2 separate regions of the Homo sapiens genome follow, and region 1 is linked to region 2. The links are contacts of gene promoters, found by promoter capture Hi-C in human tissues and cell types (Jung and others, 2019). All regions are on one chromosome and are shown on one strand. Each heading gives the region's core, a stretch centred on a gene start or on the middle of the fragment in contact. The rest is flanking DNA. Distances are from core to core; before and after follow the strand shown.

Region 1 (4,002 bases), core at 179-2,678, 46 kb before region 2:
TGTCTGTTATTGGTGTATAGGAATGCTTGTGATTTTTGCACATTGATTTTGTATTCTGAGACTTTGCTGAAGTTGCTTATCAGCTTAAGGAGATTTTTGGCTGAGATGATGGGGTTTTCTAAACATACAGTCATGTCATCTGCCAACAGGGACAATTTAACTTCCTCATTTCCTAATTGAATACCGTTTATTTCTTTATCTTGCCTGATTGCCCTGGCCAGAACTTCCAACACTATGTTGAATAGGAGTGGTGAGAGAGGGCATCCTTGTCTTGTGCCAGTTTTCAAAGGGAATGCTTCCAGTTTTTGCCCATTTAGTATAATATTGACAGCCAGTCTATGTCTCTTAAGAGGGGAATTTAATCCTTTTAAATCCAAGGTTAATGTTGACATATGAGGCTTTGTTCCTGTCATGTTCTTGCTTACCGTTTGTTTTATATATTCTATGTTGTTTTCTTTTTCTCATTTTTTGTCATTGTGGTTTGGTAGATGAATATCTACAGTAGTATCATTTGAGTCCTTCCTCTTTTTTACCATTGTTTTACACTTTCTTGTGTTTTCACCATGATAAGCATCATCATTTCACTTCCAAGTATAGAACTCCCTTGAGCATTTTAGGGCCAGTCTAGTGGTGCTGAATTCCCTCCGCTTTTGCTTCTCTAGGAACAACTTTATTTCTCCTCTATTTATGAAGGATAAGTTTTCTGGATATAGTATCCTTGGCTGGCAGGGTTTTTTCCTCAACACTTTAAATATATCATCTCATTCTCTTCTGGCCTATAAGGTTTCTGCTGAGATATCCTCTGTTAGTATAATGGGATTTCCTTTAGAGGTGACTAAATTCTTTTCTCACTGTTTTTAGAATTCTCTCTTTGTCATTGACTTTAGACATTTTGACTATAATGTGCTGTGGAGAATTTGTGCATTGTATCTGTTTAGGGATTGCTGGGCCTCCTGTATCTGGATGTCTAAACCTCTTGCTGGATGTGGAAAGTTTTTATCTATTATTTTGTTATATATGTTTAACTATTTCAATATCTCTTTACCTTCTGGGATATCAATAATTTGTATATTTGGTCACTTCATGGTGTTCCATATACCATGAAGGCTTTGTTTAGCTTTTTTTAATTCTTTTTTTTTCCTTTATATTTTCATGGCTGGGTTATTTCAAAAGTTGAACCTGAACTGTCTTCAGGTTCAGAGGTTCTTTTGTCTGCTTGAACTAATCTATTGTTGAAGCTTTCAAATGTGTTATGTTGTTCATTCAATGAATTGTTCAGTTGCAGAATTTCTGTTTGATTCTTTTATGACATCTATGTCTTTGGTAAACTTCTCATTCATATCCTGAATTGTTTTTCAGATTTCTTTGTATTGTTTTTCAGAATTATCTTGTATCTCACTATCCTTCTTTAGAATCTAATTTGGATTCTTTTTCTGGAATTTCATTAATTGCTTTTTGATTGAGATCTGTTTCTGGAGAATTATTGTGTTCCTTTTTTAAAAAATTTATTTACATTTTTTTTCTTAAAGACCAGTATGATAGTATATCTTCCTTTAAAAGTGTCATTTTCCTGGCTTTTTCATGTTTCCTGTGTTCTTATGTTAATATATATACATCTGATGTTTCAGTTGCTTCTTCCAATTTTTAAAAATTTGTTTTTGTAGGGGGAGAATGTTTCCTAAGGATGAATAGATAGTGTTGGTTGGGCAGGGTCCTTTGGCTTTTATTCTGGTTGCAGTAGTAGTGTAGTTTCTTTGATTTTTTTGGCCATGACTGGCATAAGTGCCATCTGACATTTCCTCAGTGGCCTAGGTACAGTTATTAATGGGAGCTATGATGCAGTTTTGCTGGTGACTGGGATGCCAAGTAAGCCAGTCTCTGAGCCCAAGTGGTGTTAGCAATGGGCTAAGTATGCCCATCATTGTGTCCCAGGGCAGTATACACTGGCACCAGTGTTAGGTCAAACCAGGCCAATTCTTGGGCCTCCAGGTGCCTTACTCAAATACTGATAGTGGAAGCCATGGAACCAGCAGGTTGGTGATTTCTTGGGTTCTTGGGACACTTGTGTGGCATGCATGATGGCAACGGCAGTGACAGGATGACCCTCTAAGTCCTGAGTGGTGCTGGCTAATGTTGGTTGTGCCAATGATGAGCTGGGCTTACTTCTCTTTTTTAATTGAAATTGTAATGTTAAAATTAAAATTTTAATTAAATTAAAATTTCTTAATTAAATTTAAAATTTTAATAAAGAGGGATATTATTGTTCAGGGTTTTGATATACTTTCTTTTTAGTTCATTATGTTTTGATAAATTAAGCTATTTGAATATTACTATTTGTCATTGCAAGCCATGGTTCACAATGACAAATAGTAATCTTCAAATAGTTTAACTTACTAATATATTTTTATTATTATTTACTTTATTCTTTTAGGGAGGGGAGAAGAGTATCTGGCCAAGAAGCAACAAGTGCAAAATTGGAATGTCCAAAGAATAGCAAAAAATTTAATCTGGCTATATCAGTGAAGCAGAAGGAAACATAGTAAGAGATGCATTTGTAGAGATAGAACCATCTAAACATGGTTCACAATGACAAATAGTAATATTCAAATAGCTTAATTATCAAAACTTAATGAACTAAAAAGAAACTAGAATATCAAACCCTGAACAATAATATCCCCCTTTATTCATTTTAAAAATGTGTATTGAACCCTTATTATATATTAGGCACTATTTGTAATAACTTGTATATAGTGGTGGATGAAATAAACTTAACAGTAAATCTGTAATCAGACAACTCAGTGCTCTGGAATAATCACAAATCAAGATGTATAAAAAATGTACTCTGAATGTGGAAATAGCTATGTCTCAGAACTAAAATAAGACACTTTATCTAGGAGCAGGCTGTTAAGCTTTAACCAAAGCTGTTTAAATGTAATTCTTAAGAGTCTTATTTATCTGGTTTCCAATCACACAGACTAGAATCAGAAAACTAAAAGACAGGCTTATGAGTCTAAAAAGCAAGCATTTTGACAGCAATAAAATGCTGATCTCTAACTACAAAAAGGAACAAAAATCAAACACATCTTCATATTGCAGTGTTCAAAATGATCAAAAAATTCACCAAGAAAAGGTTAAATCCTGTAGCATAGACTCCTTTTAAGAAACTGTGGGTTCTTATATTACCCTTCATAAATATTATCATGAAAAATTGTTTTTAAATAAAATTTAGATCATTTAAGAGATAAGCTTCACTCATCCAGAAATTGCTATGAGGAGATGTAGGCAAAATGAGATACAGCCATGTCCATAGAAGAGTTATGTTCTGATTTCAAAAAATACTTGTTTCCCAACAGCTTTGAAATATCAGTTTTTCTTCAAACTCTTGCCATGATACACAGCATTGAGATGATCAACAATTCAACACTCTTACCTGGAGTCAAACTGGGGTATGAAATCTATGACACTTGTACAGAAGTCACAGTGGCAATGGCAGCCACTCTGAGGTTTCTTTCTAAATTCAACTGCTCCAGAGAAACTGTGGAGTTTAAGTGTGACTATTCCAGCTACATGCCAAGAGTTAAGGCTGTCATAGGTTCTGGGTACTCAGAAATAACTATGGCTGTCTCCAGGATGTTGAATTTACAGCTCATGCCACAGGTAGGTTTTGTGCTACCTCCAAACATTGCTTTTGATCACATTTGTTATTATGAAAGGATCAGGGAAACCTGAGGAAACTAGTTAGGGAGTCACTTTTACTTTAACTTTTCTTTCTCTTTAGTTAAAGAAAGGATGCACACCATTACAGAGAGTATAGTGAAAAAGTACTAAGGGAGTAATTACCCCTCAGTCTATCAGGTCTAGTATCTGAGAAAGCAGCAAGTGCAGAGTTGGAATGCCCAAAGAATAGCAAAAAGGCCAATCTGGCTAGATCAGCTGAAGCAAAAGGAAACATAGTAAGAGATGCTTTTGTAGAGACAGGCAAAGCCTGGGTCATGTAGCATC
Region 2 (3,751 bases), core at 894-3,393:
TCCCTCCAGGGAAATAAACTTATTTCCCTTGTTTAATATTTCTTAGTGAATTATTAACGATTGGTTGTTTCTCAGTGATGGCTTTCTCTAGCTCTATGGATACTCCCTCTCAGTGATGTGAAGACAAATAAAATACTAATAGAAAAAACCACATTTAAATAATGCAAGAATCTTCAAGTACCATAATGCTGGAGCAATATTAGCTATGGCAACATACTTTCTCAGGCAGGAATTCATTCAGTTGAGTTTTATAAACACTTATTTGGAGACCGCTATGTGGTAAGCAACATGATAGACACTGAAAGTATGAAGTTTAAAAGGACATAGAATGTCCTCAAGCATCTCAGTCTTTTCGTAAACTAGCCTAGGTGCAGACTATTCTGTTTTCGAAGACTTGTATTCATCTATTCATTTATTTAACAAATACTTATTAAATATCTACTAAGTGCCAATTTTTCAGCTATATCTTGGGAATATAATCACAACTCCTGAAGGTCAGGGAGCTCCTAGTTCCCCACAGGAGATTTCATAAATTAAAATGCCCTTGTGTTTTGGGACTAAAGAATGTGACGGGGAAAGAAATCATTATCTTCTGAAGTATTATTACACACCAGGCACATTTAGAAGGACATTGCTAACCATGGTTTCTAAATATCTTCTCACTCTACTCCTGCTTATTCTTTTTCACCTTGTTTTATTTTTCTTCATCTTCACCTGATGTCATCACTGCTCCATCCCCAGCTCTGAGAGGTAGCTGGCACGTAGCTGGTTACTGGTAGTCATTGCATGAATAAACCTAAAAGATAGGAATTCTGGTTTTACAAAAGAGACCAAGACTTATAACTTAAATGATTTACTGCTCATGATTGTGCAACTTTTAAGTCACAAATCCGGGATTTAAACCTAGGTGTGAAGGCAAAGCCCATGTTCCTTCTGCAAGCGCTCCTCTAAATGTATGTCTTCACAGAGCTATTAACCCCTCTTTTTTTGTTTAACACGGTTATGTAAAAAGAAAAAAAAACTGAGCTGGCAGTTACAGAAAAGTTATAGCTTTCAAGAGCCTGACAGTCTAGTTAGGAAGCAAAATATCTAGAAATCCAACAAGTGCAAAGCAGTGTCTAGATAAGGAGGGAAACTCACAGGCAGTAATAGCAGAGGAGGGTGAGCTCGGCCTGGTGCTGGGCTGATGAGCACTTTGACTTGGCAGGAGGTCTGTTGTCTGTGGAACAAGATAAGTAAATTGCTTGTACAACCCTTCTCTCCAATCATTGAATCTGAATCCCTGTTACCATTTAATGCCTGAAAATAGTAGATTCTTTTACCTTTTAGCATAGAGGAGATGGTGGAAGGTGACAGAAGAAAGGCACATTTTGAAGGGAGTGTGGAGAGTTTGTGGGCTAAGAGATGAAGAGGTAGGAAGCTGGCATGGCGGCTCATACGTGTAATCCCAGTGCTTTGGGAGGCAGAGCCCAGCTGATAGCTTGAGGCCAGGAGTTGGAGACCAGTCTGGACAACATAGTGAGATCCCATCTCTTAAAAAAAAAAAAAATAGCGGAGCGTGCTGGCGCACGACCAAAGCCCTAGCTACTCTGGAGGCTAAGGTGGGAGGACTACTTGAGTCCAGGAGTTCGACGTTACAATGAGCTATCAGCATGCCACTGCACTTTAGCCTGAGTGACAGAGCCAGAGACTGTCTCTGAAAAGAAGAAGAAAAGATAGAGAAAGGCACTTGGAGGAATTGAGATTGTTTTCCGTAGGAAAGAGAAAAGGTATGGGGGTGGGAGACGATGAGGTGAGGAGCTAACTTCAAGAAATCTCATCCAGAAGTTAGTGGAGTGCCCTTAACACTTAATTGGGAAATGTCTTCAGTTTCCTGCACTTGAAGGATTGTTGTCTCTTCCTGGAAGAGAGGATTTAGATTTATTCTCCTGGGGAACAAACGATGGAATCAAAGGCTAAAAGCCTGGCGGGAATACATTTCTACTCAATACAAAGAATTTAAAAGGAGCTACACGCACTGCCTCAGGCGGTGGTGAGCCTGTTTCAAACAGAGGCAGGCTGCTTCCTGAGGAACCAGCCCCTCGGGGCTTGACGCCCTGATCCCGGGTCGCTGGCCGGGGGCGGAGACGGGGATAGCGAGCTGAGTGTGCGAGCGCCAGGGGTTCCAGCTGCACGTCCCAGGCTCTCCAGCGCGCGGCAGGCCGGGGCGGGACGAGGAGAGCTGCGGGGACAACGCCTGTGGCTGGGTCCGGAGGTGCGGGTGCGGCGCGGGACAAGCGGGCAGCATGCTCAGGGCGGTCGGGAGCCTACTGCGCCTTGGCCGCGGGCTAACAGTCCGCTGCGGCCCCGGGGCGCCTCTCGAGGCCACGCGACGGCCCGCACCGGCTCTTCCGCCCCGGGGTCTCCCCTGCTACTCCAGCGGCGGGGCCCCCAGCAATTCTGGGCCCCAAGGTCACGGTGAGCCAGGGCTCCGACGGGGAGGTCCTGGGAGGGAGGAGGTTGCGGGAGGGCAGCGAGGGGCCGGCCCGGGAGTCGGCTTGAGGGCGCGCTGATCCTCTGTGCCGGTGCGTCAGTTCCCGCGTCCATCTGGGTTGCTTTCGCTGCAGGGGAGATTCACCGAGTCCCCACGCAGCGCAGGCCTTCGCAGTTCGACAAGAAAATCCTGCTGTGGACAGGGCGTTTCAAATCGATGGAGGAGATCCCGCCTCGGATCCCGTAAGTGTGGCGACCGCCGCGCGAAGGAGAGTCGGTCCCCGGCCGCAAGGGTGCGGGGTGACCCACCTTCCGACCGCGGCCACCTAGGAGCGAAAGCGGCCGCAGTGCCAACACTTCGCAATATCACCCACCACACACGGAGTTTACCCACACACACACCCCGCCTCCAGTGCGGTGTGTCAAGAGTCAATTAAGCTTACAGGGAGATTGCAGAAGGTGGGTGAAAACTGAGAGGTTCAGGGGACACTTCCAGCACCGCCCAGATTGCCGGTCCCCAGCAAGCTCCGAACTGGGAGGCAGTGGGGCTCTTGTGCCAAACAGGCCACGGTCCTCGCGAGCATCCGGATGGCTGCCGGGACGCCAGACCGCAATCCAGGCTTTGGCCGGGGGCGTCCCCCTACCCCACCCAAGGAAGGGGTTCTCTGATCTTGGCTTGCGGGGCGGCTGTGGCGGGGGGGTCTCTGGAAAAAAGACGCATCCATGCGGCCTCCTCTTCTGGGGCAGGAGACGCCTGGCGGACGTGTTTCTGCAGCCCTCTAGGCTCCGGGTTTACTCAGGGTGGGACGCGCGGGAGTGTCAGCACTGTGGGCCTCTTCAGCATGCTAAACCCACCAAGACAGATGATAAAACTCAAACTAATAACTCCCCCTCTAAGGTAATGTAACCTGTAAAATAAATGCTAATAATAAGTAAATGTAACCTGTAAAAAAATCTTTCCAAAGTTTCTGTTTCTGCCAAGCCCAAAAACCTTCGCAGCATTTTTACAAGGGATTGGGTAAAAAAGAGAGGGACGGAAACTAAAAATAAAATCAATCTACTACTTTTTAAGTTTATCTTTTAAAAATAAAAGACTAAAACCATAACGTGAAAGAAGGATTTTAGATATTCTGTATATTTGTACAATGTAATGAATGCCTATTAGAATGGATAATGGAAACTGGGCCTATATTTCTGTTTTTCACATGGTGCCTGCCATGTTATTGTTTATAAACAATTGCAGTTTATCAGTTACCAAAGCATCTCAGATAGCTAGGGG

Evidence for each region. Contacts are between HindIII fragments. The study calls those that stand out against the background at their distance.
Region 1: a fragment that was not itself captured here is called in contact with the fragment with the promoter of FAM162B in region 2 in 3 of the 25 tissues and cell types used here (heart left ventricle, heart right ventricle and thymus).

Annotation. Positions count from the first base shown.
Region 1 is chr6:116,808,969-116,812,970 of GRCh38, reverse strand. GPRC6A (G protein-coupled receptor class C group 6 member A) reads left to right here. Exons shown (of 6, transcript NM_148963.4): 2 at 3,354-3,657. Among named protein-coding and RNA genes, the nearest start is that of GPRC6A, 18 kb to the left of the region's middle. The HindIII fragment of the contact is 5,660 bases long and covers 1-4,002 here.
Region 2 is chr6:116,764,111-116,767,861 of GRCh38, reverse strand. FAM162B (family with sequence similarity 162 member B) reads left to right here and starts at 2,143. Exons shown (of 4, transcript NM_001085480.3): 1 at 2,143-2,457; 2 at 2,607-2,715. The coding sequence starts at 2,286. LOC105377963 (a long non-coding RNA gene) reads right to left here and starts at 1,494. Exons shown (of 3, transcript XR_942910.3): 1 at 1,323-1,494; 2 at 1,141-1,219; 3 at 1-796. RefSeq lists an enhancer at 2,608-3,122. The HindIII fragment of the contact is 7,101 bases long and covers 1-3,751 here.